3 separate regions of the Homo sapiens genome follow, and regions 1 and 2 are each linked to region 3. Evidence: promoter capture Hi-C in 16 types of primary human blood cells and fetal thymus (Javierre and others, 2016). All regions are on one chromosome and are shown on one strand. Each heading gives the region's core, a stretch centred on a gene start or on the middle of the fragment in contact. The rest is flanking DNA. Distances are from core to core; before and after follow the strand shown. Region 1 has its middle 70 kb from the start of UBIAD1. Region 2 overlaps UBIAD1 (UbiA prenyltransferase domain containing 1). Region 3 holds the start of DRAXIN (dorsal inhibitory axon guidance protein).

Region 1 (4,034 bases), core at 1,259-3,758, 350 kb before region 3:
GGGCATAAAGAGTGATGGCTGGTGCAGTGGCTCACGCCAGTGCTTTGGGAGTCCAAGGCAGGAGGATCGCTTGAGGCCATGAGTTTAAGACCAGCCTGGGTAACATAGTGAGATCCTGTCTCTACAAAAAATTAAAAACTTAGCTGGGCATGGTGGTGTGTGGCTGTAGTCCCAGCTACTTGGGAGGCTGAGACAGGGGGATTGCGTGAGTCCAGCAAGTCAAGGTTGCAGTGAGCCGTGATTGCACCATTGCACCCCAGCCTGGGCAACTTAGAGTGAGACTCCATCTCTTTTTAAAAAAAAGTGAGAGATAGAAGAGGCTATTTTATATAAGGTGTCCAGACAGGCTGCTCTGATAATATTTCAGCAGAAACTTTCATGAAGTGAAGGAGTGAGCTGATAGGGGATATAAGGGTGGAGCATGCAGGCAGTGGGAACAGTGATTGCAAAGGCCCTGAGGCAGGTGAGTGTGGTTGGATTGGAGCCCAGGTGGGGAGAGTGGGCGGAGAAGCCATTGAAGAGGAAACACATAGTTCATTGTAAAGGCTTATCTATTGGCCCACGCGGCGCTCTTGCAGAATTTTGCTAGTGGAGTTCACCTGCCCTGGGAGGCCCTTTGGTTCCAGCATCCTGGGTGAACTGGATCTCCTGCCACTCCTACCTGTTCAGGACCTAGAGAACAGCAAGCCCGAGGCTCCATCTCCTGTTTACCGCTGGCTGTTCTGCTCTGTTTCTGATCCATGGCATGCAGCCATGACTTTATAACTTACAAAATCCTTTATTGCCATAAGTGGAGAGGAGTTTCATGCATGCAAACTTGTCCCAACCTGGCAGCTTCATCTTCATTTTGTAAATGTTGCAATGAAACTCCAGGAGGTTCTGTGCTTGCTGGAGGCGTATGGGCCATATGGTGTGGAGGAAGGGCTGTAGTTGACCACTGCTTTATAAGCAGCTTTGTAAACGTATATATTTCAAGATGACACACACATACACACACACACCCCAGTCCCAGAGTGACACAATCATAGGGCCATTGCCAGAGCAATCATGAGTACTGAAAAAGTGAACACATGGCCTCTGCACACCAGGTCCCAGGCCGCAGCTGTGGCAGACATCCCTAATCAATCACAGGACTCCTTCGTGCTGAGCCCAGATGCAACCTCAGAATCCTGGAAAGCCCATATGGGGTTGATTTATAAAAGGAAGCATTGGCCATTTTTGCTGCAGGGGCAAGCTGTCCTGGGGGGCCTTTCCTGGGGGATAGGGAACAGCATTGGCCTAATCTCGGGTCTTGGAACCCTGTTCTTGAACCCTTGGCAGCATTCTCTGCCGGATTTATAAAGTGACTGCAGCTCTGGAACATGAGACAAAATTAGTGCAGCCTCAGAGAGCGCTGTCTCGAAATTGGCTTTCCAGCGAGCGGCTGGGTCTCCTACTCTCCCCACAGGTGGGGCTGTTTGAGTCCCTGGTAGGATTTGTTCCAGCTGCCAGACATGGATTAGGCTTTTGACTGTTGAACCCAGACAAGGGGACCAGCTGTTTAATGAGCTGGAGGAGGAAGTGGCTCCTGAAAGCAAGTCCTTTTCTTGGCTCAGGCATGCAGATCAGACATGGAACCAGGAAAGCTGCCTCGCCAAGCTTGGTAACCAGAGGGAAATGAATGATAGTGATCTGACAGGGAAGGATAAGGACAGGGGAGAAGAGGGGAGGTGGGGAGAGGAGCAGGAGGGGAGGAGCCAGGAGGGAAATCATGGACCAGCCTTTGCCTAGACCCCAGGGCTCTGCTGCAGGCTCCACTCCTCTTGGCTTCTTTTGCTATCAGAATCATTGTGCCTTGGATCCTGGAGATCCCGAGGCATGTAGATGATCTAGGGGTAGGCTAGATACAGATTTACATTGATACCTGGAGACAGGATAACCTGGGTTCAAATTCCTGTTCCTCATTGACTTGCCTCCGTTTCCTCATCTACAAAATGGGCTTCGTGTTTCCATGAGCAGGGGCGTAATGCTCTCAGACTTCCCCACCCTGTCACATTCTGCCATTCAGCTTTTGGTAGATGTTCAAACTGCCATTTGGACCTTTATCCATGGGATTTCAGTGTCTCTCTCTTGATTGGATCTGAACTTGGTGGAGGAGGTGGTGGGTTTATTCATTAGAACCCACTGAACATTAATGGCACCCACCCACGTGTTTGATGTGACGATTAAGCAGGTGAAGGTGTTTGTAGCTGCTTGTATCCTCCATGTCTAGATATATAGCTAATCCATACCTGTGCATATCTATACCTATCAATACACACTGGGGCCCAGCACAGATCGGTGCTTAGTTTGTTTGCTTTTTGAGACAGTGTCTTGCTCTGTTGCCCAGGCTGGAGTGCAGCGGCATGATCTTGGCTCACTGCAACCTCCACCTCCCAGGTTCAAGCAATTCTCATGCCTCAGCTTCCTGAGTAGCTGGGATTGCAGGTGCCTGACACCAGGCCTGGCTTGTTTTTTTTTTTTTTTTTTTTAGTAGAGACAGGGCTTCACCATGTTGCCAGGTTGGTCTCGAACTCCTGGCCTCAAGCAATCCGCCCGCCTCAGCCTCCCAAAGTGCTGGGATTACAGGTGTAAGCCACTGCACCTGGCCAGATTGGTGCTTAGTTTAATTTCAGCTGGCGAGTCCTTCCCGTCCAGCCTCCTCCTAATGTGCCATTGTGGGGAGAGGGCAGGGAAGGTCTGAGAGCAGCCTCATGCCTTCCTGGAAGAGTGGGCCTGTCCTGGGGCCTGGAAAGCAGGGATGTGGTGGCAGCTCCCCAGGCAGCTTCCTGCTCCTCAGCTGAGATTTGGAATGAGTGATCCCCTCCCTGCGCAAACCCAGGTAGTCCTCAGGGAGGCAGGTGAGGGGAAGGTTTCAACCCCGCTTCTGCCACCAACAGCAAGGGGTGACCTGGGGGAAGTGAGTAGGTTGGGCCTGGGCTTGGGGCTCCGAGGAGATGGGTGGCAGGGCACAGCCTCCTAGAAAGTCAGGGAAGCAGGGCTAGCTCCAGTCACTGTCCCAACTGTCACCCAGTTTATGGAGAACTGCTCTGTGCCAGGCCCAGTGCTGAATAAGACACGCACGGTCCTGGCTCTCAGGCAGTTGATATTAACATGCTATCCTTCATGAAAATCATGAGAGTGCTGTCGGCCACAGTTCCGCAAAGAAGCTGTTGGGGCCACGTGCATTTCAGATTTCAAAATTGTTTTCAGATTTTATTAATGTAATGTTCCCTATATTACAGACGACTCCAACATATTCATATTTCTGTAGCGAAATACATGTGAATAGTGGGATACAGACTGTTAAGTATCTCTAAGGTCAGTTCAGTTTAGGTTTTGCTGCCAAATGAGTTTTGAAAAGCTTTTTGGTCTCAGAGCTTTGGGGATGTTGGAATGGCAGAGGAGGGATGAGGGACTGACCACTTCCCGAGCTCTGAGAAGCACTGGGCCGAGCACTTTCACTGGCTGAATACATTAAACGCTCACAACAGCCCTATGAGGTCCGTTCTATTTTTGTCATTCTGACTGTACAGAAGAGGAGATCCAGGCACAGAGAGGTTAAGTAATTCACCGAAGTTCACACAGCTAGTAAGAGGCAGAGCTTGGATTCAAACCCCTCGGGGGCCAAAGCCTGCCAAGGTCACATAGTTTACAATCCAATGTGTGGTGGGCAGGTTGGGGAGGTGGAGGGAGCACTAGCACAAAGATGGTTACAGTGCAGTGGAAGAAGTGCCAGAACTGGGGGGTCCAGGTCCCTGAAGCCCAGAGGCAGGGGCCCAACTCAGCTTAACGGTTGGGGAAGATGCCCTAGGGGAGCTGGCAGCTTCCCCAACCCCGAGGGCACCAGCCAGGTAACAGCGGGGAAGGGAAAAGTGTTTCAAGTGAAGGAAATAGCATAAACAGCAAGAACAAAGGCCTAGAGGAGAGAGAGAGCAAAATGGGGGTGCAGCCTGGAATGGGAGGCCACGGGGAAGGAGGTGGGGGCTTGGAGGGTAAGCTGGGACCAGCCTCAC
Region 2 (3,892 bases), core at 342-2,841, 410 kb before region 3:
GGTTCAAGTGATTCTCAGCCTCCCAAGTAGCTGGGATTACAGGCGTCTGCCACCATGCCTGGCTAATTTTGTATTTTTAGCAGAGACGGTGTTTCACCATGTTGTCCAGACTGGTCTCAAACTCCTGACCTCAGGTGATCCACCCACCTTGGCCTACCAAAGTGCTGGGATTACAGGCATGAGCCACTGCGCCTGGCCAACTTTGGACATCTTAATGTCTATTAAATCTCCTAACAAAGATGTCAAATGGGTAGTTCAAGTTCAGAGAAGCCTGGGCTAGAGATTACATATCTGGGAGTCATTGGTCTATAGATAAAGTTGTAGGACTGGGTGAGGTCATCAAGGGGGAGGGAGTGTTGGTAGAAAAGTCAGTCCTGGTCTGAGCCCTGGGACACTCCCACATTAGAGGTGGGGGAAGAAAAGGCACAGGTAAAGGGGATGTGAGCAAGCATCCAGAGGAGTAAGAGGAAAATCAAAAGGCTGTGGTGGCCTGGCAGCTAATTATAAAAAGTTCAGTGAAGGAAATCAATGAGGTGGTGTAATAGAAAGTACAAGGTGGTGGTGAAGGGAAGAGGCTGTCTTTGTGAAAGTGACGTTCAAACTAGGACTTGAAGACGGAAGGATAAGGAGCTGGCCACGGGGTGGAATTGGAGTCTGATTGTGATGCTGAGTCCTCCAGGGCTGAAGGACCACTAAGTGCAAATGTGGTGGGTGAGAGAGAGTGTGACATTGGCTAGGATCTACTGAAAGGTCTGTGTGAGCCAGAGGGGGCATGAGACACAGTTGGTGAGTTAGGCAGGGTCTCTGTCATGGCGATCTTAACCAGTCCTACTCCCCAACCTCCAGGGCTCAGTCCTTGGGCCTCTTTTCTCTATCTCCATGTACTCCCTTGGTGATGTAGCTCATGGCTTCAGATGCCATCTGTTAAGCTAGTGACTCTTAAACTCCAGACTCATATCCAACTTCTTGCTCAGCAACTTCTCCTAGAACTGTCTCATAAACATCTCAAGCTTAACATGTCTGAGACCAAATTCTGATCTTCTCCCCAAGGAAACCTGCTTCGCCCACAGCTTTTTCCCCATTTTGCTCAATGGCAGCTTCATCCTAGTTCTTCAGGCCAAAAGCTGTGGGCATCGTCCTTGACTCCCACGTCTCACATCCAGTTCATCAGCAAATTCTGTTGACTCTCCTTTCAAAATGCATGTAGGATCTGACCACTTCTTACCGTGTCCAGCCACCACTGTGATCATCTGTCCCTGGATTTTTGCGGCAGGCTCCCAACTGGTCTCTTTACCTCTGTTCTGGTCCCATTCAGGCTGTTCCCACTCAGCCACCAGAGTAATTCTGTTAAAATATAGGGCAGCCCTGTCAGTCCTGCTTAGAACTCTTCAGTGGCTCCCATCTTGCTCAGAGTAAAGGCCAGGGTCTTTACAGTGACTCCCTAGGGCCCTACATTCTTTGCCCACCTTTTGCCCTCCCCCCAGTTCTCTGACCCACCCTCCTCCTTTCTTCCTGCTCATCCTGGGCCAGCCACACTGCCCTTTCTAGTCCAGGAGCATGCACAACCCCTCCTGCCCCTCCCTCAGGTCCTTTGTAGATGCAGCTTCCTCTGTTTGAAATGCTTTTCCTGCTTCTAACCATGTGGTTCACTTTCTCACTTCCTTCACCTATTTGCCCAAATGTCAGCTGCTCAGTGAGGCCTTGCTTTCTACCTTGCTTAAAATTACACACCCACTCCGTGCCCCCACCTGATACTTCCCCTGCTGCTCTTCTCTGCATTAGTTTTCCTCATAGCACATGTTACCTTCTAATGTGCCATATAAAGTACTTAATTGGTTAATTATCTTCCCCCTTCGACTGCGAGCTCCCTCCCTGCAGTCAGGGATTTCTGTCTCTGGTATTAGCTGAACCCCTAGCACCCAGAGCACTGCCTGGCATGTAATATTACTTAGTAAATATCCAGTGAACAAATGGGAAGGCATTGAAATATACTGAGCAGAGTAGTGACATAATCTGGTTTAAGATTTTTTAAACATTGTCTTTTATTGACATATAATTGACACACAGTGAAATGCACAGGTTTTTAGTGTTGCAGCTTGATGAATTTTGATAAATGTATACAGTTGCATAACCCACACCCCGTCATCATCCAGAACACTTCCATCACCCCCAAAAGCTTCCCAGTGCTTCTTGCCTGTCAATCCCACACTCCCTGCCCCCATCCAGAGACAGGAAAAGAACCACTGTTCTGATTCCTCTCACAGAGATTAGTTTTGCCTGTCATATAAATGGAACCTTTCACTATGAACTATGTATGTATGTATGTATGTGTATTTATTTCAGTCTGAGCTCTCGTCTGGCTTCTTTTGCTCAGCGTGATGTTTTTGAGATTCATTGTTTTATTGCGTGTATCAGTAGTTCCTTTTTTTGCTGACTAGCATTCCATTGTAACATACCACAACTTCTTTTTATCCATTCTCCTTTTCAGGGACATTTGGATTGCTTCCATATTTTGGCTATTACGTCTGAACATTCATGTTCAAGTCTTTTTGTGGATATTTGTTTTCATTTTTCTTGGGTAAATGCCCAGGAGTAGAATTGCTGGGTCACAGGGCAGATGATGTTTAATTTTATGAGAAACTGCCAAACTGTTTTCTGAAGTGGTTGTACTTCTTTACACTCCCCCCAGCAAGTGTTCCAGTTGCTCTGCGTCTTGCCAACTTTTTGACTTAAGTCTTAACAGATTCATTCTGGCTGCCGTGTGGAGAACCGGCCCAGTATTTCACTGTGTAAGCTCATTCAGAAAATGGGGTTGGGAGAGGAGGAATGCCTAAAAGGAAATTCCCAGATGGGCCACGTCTCTGAATCAGGTAGAGCACATGAAGCCTTGGGCCATGTATCAAATGCTAGGAAACAGCTTTCTCCCCAAGGGCTCTACTGTTTTCTTGTGTCAGATAACCAGATCTTTTTCCTCCCCAGAGTGGGTTGCTCTTGGTTTTGGGGTGGGGACAGAGATCTCTGCTCAACCTTGCTTACATCACTTTTTTTTTTTTTTTTTTTCAAAAGACAGAGTTTAGCTCTTGTTGACCAGGCTGGAGTACAATGGTGCGACCTCTGCTCACTGCAACCTCTGCCTCCTGGTTCAAGCGATTCTCCTGCCTCAGCCTCCCGAGTAGCTGGGATTACAGGCGTGCACCACCATGCCCGGCTAATTTTTTTTTGTATTTTTAGTAGAGATGGGGTTTCTCCGTGTTGGTCAGGCTGGTCTTGACTTCCTGACCTCAGTTGATCCACCCGCTGTGGCCTCCCAAAGTGCTGGAATTACAGCGTGAGCCACTGTGCCTGGCCTTTTTTTTTCTTGAGACGGAGTTTTGCTCTTGTTGCCCAGGCTGGAGTGCAATGGCACGATCTCGGCTCACCACATCCTCTGCCTCCAGGGTTCAAGCGGTTCTTCTGCCTCAGCCTCCCGAGTAGCTGGGATTACAGACATGCGCCACTACACCCGGCTAATTTTTTGTATTTTTAGTGGAGATGGGGTTTCTCCATGTTGGTCAGGCTGGTCTCGAACCCCTGACCTCAGGTGATCCACCTGCTTCAGCCTCCCAAAGTGCTGGGATTACAGGCGTGAGCCACCATACCTGGCCGCTTACATTGCTTTTTGCCGAGTGATCTAAGGAGGTGTTCTTGGAGACTCCAGCCAAAGGTCAAGGCTGTAGTGCTGTTGCATTTTCTTTCACAGCCAGACCAGTGGCGTCACTTGGGGAGCTGAGAAAACAAGCACAGCAAGAGTGGGCAGCTGTAGAGGAACTGGCTAGGTCTGTGCTGGGAGTATTCCTGCCCAGCATCATCTTTGCGTGGGTGTAGTCCCTTAAATGTGTGAGATATTGGAAGA
Region 3 (3,894 bases), core at 473-2,972:
ACCACGTGGCTCATTACCTCCTTTTCTTTGCCAAAAGAACTGCCCCAGCAAAGAGGCCTTTCCTAATAACTTTATGTAAAACAACACCTCGTCCCTTCATGCTTTGTCTGTAATGTGCTTTACTTTTCTTCATAGCACTAATCACCACCTGACATCATTTATATTTATTTGTTCACTTATCTTCTGTCTCCTTCACTAGAATCTGAGCTCCATGGGGGCAGGGATTCTTGTCCATGTTGTTTACTACTGTACCTCCGGTGCCGGCACATAGTAGGTGTTCAATAGGTATTTATGGGATGGATGACTCAAACCTTTCAGTGAATAAACAGTTCAGTGTTCTCATCAATCCATCCTGGTGCCCACCAAGCTAATAATATCACGGTAACAATGGCAGCTAATTTTACAGGAGCATTTCCTATGGGCCAGACCTTAGAAACGTTATCTCCTTACACAGGGCACTGCATTCACGCCTAGAACACTGAAATTTAGGTATAATCATGAGCTCAGAGGTCAGGCGACTTGCTCGAGGTCATAGGGGACGGCATCAGAAGAGGAACACAGACATTTAGCCTGACGGCAGAACTGTGTTCTAAAACCTCAAAGTCATAATTTGCCACACGCTGGAGAAAGAAAACAGTCGAAATGGAAGCCACCTGGCGAGCTCAGGGCGCCAGGTGGGAGCGCTGCTTCCCACATATGGGAGTCCGGCCCCATCGCTCTTTGATCTTTGCAGCGTCCGTGGCCCCACCGACCCCGTCGTGAGTTATGGGAGGCACGGGACCCATAACCCAGCATTCTCAGACTCCCAGGGTCGTCAGGACACGGCGCCCCGCGCGGTGATGGATGAGCCGGCCCCAGCGCTGGCTTTGTCCGGGTTGGGCCGGTCTGAGAAGCTTCAGGCCGGCTTTGGACGGGGCGTGGCGAGAGCCGCGCCGCGTGTGAGTGTGTGTGTGTGTGTGTTTGTGTGTGTGTGTATTGGGGCGGTTGTCTTTCTCCCTTCCCTACCGGGAAAGAGGGCACAGGTGCGCCGTCAGCGCCCCAGGTGAGCTGGTAGCACTTTGAAGACCCTTTGTACCCCTACATCCAGGAGCGACCTCTCGGAGAACCCCGCCTGCCCACTCTGCGCACTTTCTGCGGCTACAAAGGCCCCGCCGTTCCCCGTCCCGCCTCCCCCGCCCTGGGCATTTCTTCCGTCCCTTTTGACAGTCTAGGCGGAATAATCCTTTTGTGGCCCCGGGCCCCTGCCCTGACAGACGCGGCCGCAGCTGAGCGCGCAGCCTCGCTCCATTGTTGGGGTCCACCGAGGACCGCCCGCCGCGGCCCTTTGTCGCCCGCCCTGCGCGGGGCCGCTCCAGAGGCGCCACAACTGCCGGAGCCCCTCCCGTCCCACGCGCCCTGGGCCGCGCCGAGGCGGCTCTTACGCACCGGGAGGAGTGGGCCTGCCTCGCCCGGTGCCCGCACGGCTGCTGGGCTGCGCCCGCCTTTGTCTGCCTCCTTTGTCTGCCCCGCGCCCTCGCGGCGGCGGCGCCTAGGCCTCTGGGGAGCTGGCCCAGAACTCAGAGCGCAGCTGGCGAGGGCGCGCTGGCCGGGTGCGCGCCGGGCCCGGCCCCGGGGCTGCCCCTCGGCTGGGGGCAGTCGAGCCCGCCACCCGCCGCCCCTCCTCTGTCCCCTCCCCGCGCTCCCGCCCCCTTCCCTCCTGCCCGCCCACTCCCCCTTCCTTCCAGTCCCGCTCAGCCCGGGCACATCCTCCGGCTGCCCGCGCACCTCTCCACGCCGGCCCCGTTCCGCGGCTCGCCCTCGGCTGCGCTCGGCTCCCGCGGGCGCTCGGCCCCGAGCCCCTCCTCCCCCTACCCGCCGGCCGGACAGGTAAGGCACGGCCTCGGCCCGCCCCTGGCTCCGCCCCTCCCGCCCCACCTGGCTGCGAGCCCGGACAAAGGTGGGCTACCTGGCGCGCCCAGGGGCGGGGTGCGCGGGGTCCCGAGGCTGGAAGTGAGGATGCTGCCTCCTTCCCAGCCCTCGGACCCGTCTATCCGCCAGTCCTTCCGCCGCCTCCTCTCCTCGCCGCGTCTGCCCACGGACCCTGGCTCTGCTCCCGGGCTCCCCATCCGTCCACCTACCGCTGGACGCCCACTTTTCCACGCTCTGACACTCGGCCTCGCGCGCGCCCTCGCCGCCCTCTGGGGTCCCGGCTCGCACCTACTCTCCTCGGCACTAGCCTTCTCTCTCCCTGACCCAGTCTCCCTTTGTCTCTCTGTCTCTGAGTCTCCGGGTGGTCTCTCAGGCAGGGGGCCCCAGTCCGCCACCGTTGGAAGAAGTCTTCGAAGACTCCCTGAGCCCCGGGCAGAGCTGGCGGGCGTGCCCTCCAGCCCCTTTCGAGGCCGCCCAGGAGGCTGGGGTGTGTGGCCGGGGTCGCTGAGTGCGCCCGGAACCAGCACCGCCGGTGGCCCCGCGCCGTCCCATCTGTGCCCAGGAAGGTACTCAGCCTGGCTCCCCCGACGGCGCTGGTCTTTCGCCTGTGGTCTCCCGCTCTGTCCCTCCTGCTCCCCACCGCCGGCTTTTGGCTTTTCTCCGTCCGCTCGTCAAGGGTCTCAGCCGCCTTCGGGGCCGGGGTATGAGATGAGAGAGGGCTGGGGTTTCCCGCCAAGTCTTTCTTGCTTTCCTCAGCTGGGTGCTCCCTGGGCCATCCTCTCCGCCCGGTGGTCTCCCCTGCCCTATATGCTCCCTCCACGCTGCCCACCTCCCAGCCCAGTGACACACTGGTGTCTGGAACCGGTTCAGTACTATGCATCTGGAGTCGGGTACACTGGGGCTCTGGGAGTGATCTCGGACAAAGGAATGCACCTCTCTGAGCCTCAGTGTTCCTGTCACAAAACAGGGATGGTGCTAGTCCCTACCTATAGGGATGTGTGTGGAAATTGTGGGGTGCCGCTTGGTGCTGGTTCACACACCCTGTGGAGGAAGGGAGGGGAGGGGAGGGGAGTCTACAGACCTGGGATGGGGTGGGGACAGGGGGCTCCACAGAAATGGATCTCAAAGTCAAGGCTTAGAGACACTTCAGAGTAACCCCACCACCACAGCCTCTTCCCCCATCACACTTCCTGTCACCTTCACCTCCTCGTGCCCATACAGGCGTCCACACCCTTGCAAGCACTCTTCTCTTTCTCTCTCTCCTCCTCTTTGCTTGTCCTAAAATCAGCTAAAACAATCAGGGCCAATGGGTCACTTTTTTTCAAAATGAGATCAGTGTGGCTGAGCTGGTGTTGCCAACAACTGATCACCCATCAGAAGGCGTCCGGTGACTCACCCCCAATTCTGAACCTCAGTCTTGGCTTGATGCCTTTAATAGCGGCACCAGCTCACAGGCCACTTCCTTTCCTCTGAGGGGATTGTCTTGCTGGCTCCTGGACCTGCTGTGTGCTTGCCCAAGCCCCCTGACCACTGTCTAGGTGGTCATAACATGTGACACACCACTCCAGGAGTCTGGCAGTGACGTGGCCTGAGTGTCTTAATGAGGGCAACTTCAGAAGAGGGAAACCTCCCAGCTGGCAGGTTCCAGGCTCCCCTGGCTGAGTTCTTATTTCAGCCACAGCCAGGGCTGGCAACTGGAACCTTTCTCTTTAGAGGCAAGAACGGCTGGATATCCCCACGACATCCCCCATCCAGGCTCCTGCTCGAAATCCGACCTGGCAGACAGGCCCTACTTTGGTGAACCCGGCCCTTCATACCATCTCTACCCCCTGCCTTCTGCAGCAAAGCCAGCTCAGAGGCTTGGGAACCTTGCTCAGGTCCTCTCTGCTCTCTCCGCTGCCTTCCTCCCCACTATTCAATTCATCGCCCTCCCAGTCCATAGTCCTCAGTGGCTCACTGTGGCCACTCAGTTAACTACAGAGACCT

What was found. Contacts are between HindIII fragments. The CHiCAGO score rates a contact against its expected background, and 5 or more counts as called.
Region 1: a fragment that was not itself captured here is called in contact with the fragment with the promoter of DRAXIN in region 3 in 1 of 17 cell types (naive CD8 T cells); the score reaches 5.8 in naive CD8 T cells.
Region 2: a fragment that was not itself captured here is called in contact with the fragment with the promoter of DRAXIN in region 3 in 1 of 17 cell types (endothelial precursors); the score reaches 5.7 in endothelial precursors.

What each region holds. Positions count from the first base shown.
Region 1 is chr1:11,341,319-11,345,352 of GRCh38, forward strand. No RefSeq gene overlaps it. Among named protein-coding and RNA genes, the nearest start is that of UBIAD1, 70 kb to the left of the region's middle. RefSeq lists an enhancer at 2,287-2,787. The HindIII fragment of the contact is 1,744 bases long and covers 1,637-3,380 here.
Region 2 is chr1:11,279,518-11,283,409 of GRCh38, forward strand. All of the region lies in intron 1 of UBIAD1 (UbiA prenyltransferase domain containing 1), which reads left to right. Among named protein-coding and RNA genes, the nearest start is that of UBIAD1, 8.3 kb to the left of the region's middle. The HindIII fragment of the contact is 1,166 bases long and covers 1,009-2,174 here.
Region 3 is chr1:11,689,988-11,693,881 of GRCh38, forward strand. DRAXIN (dorsal inhibitory axon guidance protein) reads left to right here and starts at 1,723. Exons shown (of 7, transcript NM_198545.4): 1 at 1,723-1,866. It also overlaps a transcript of MAD2L2 not described here. RefSeq lists enhancers at 21-530, 531-1,038. The HindIII fragment of the contact is 12,625 bases long and covers 892-3,894 here.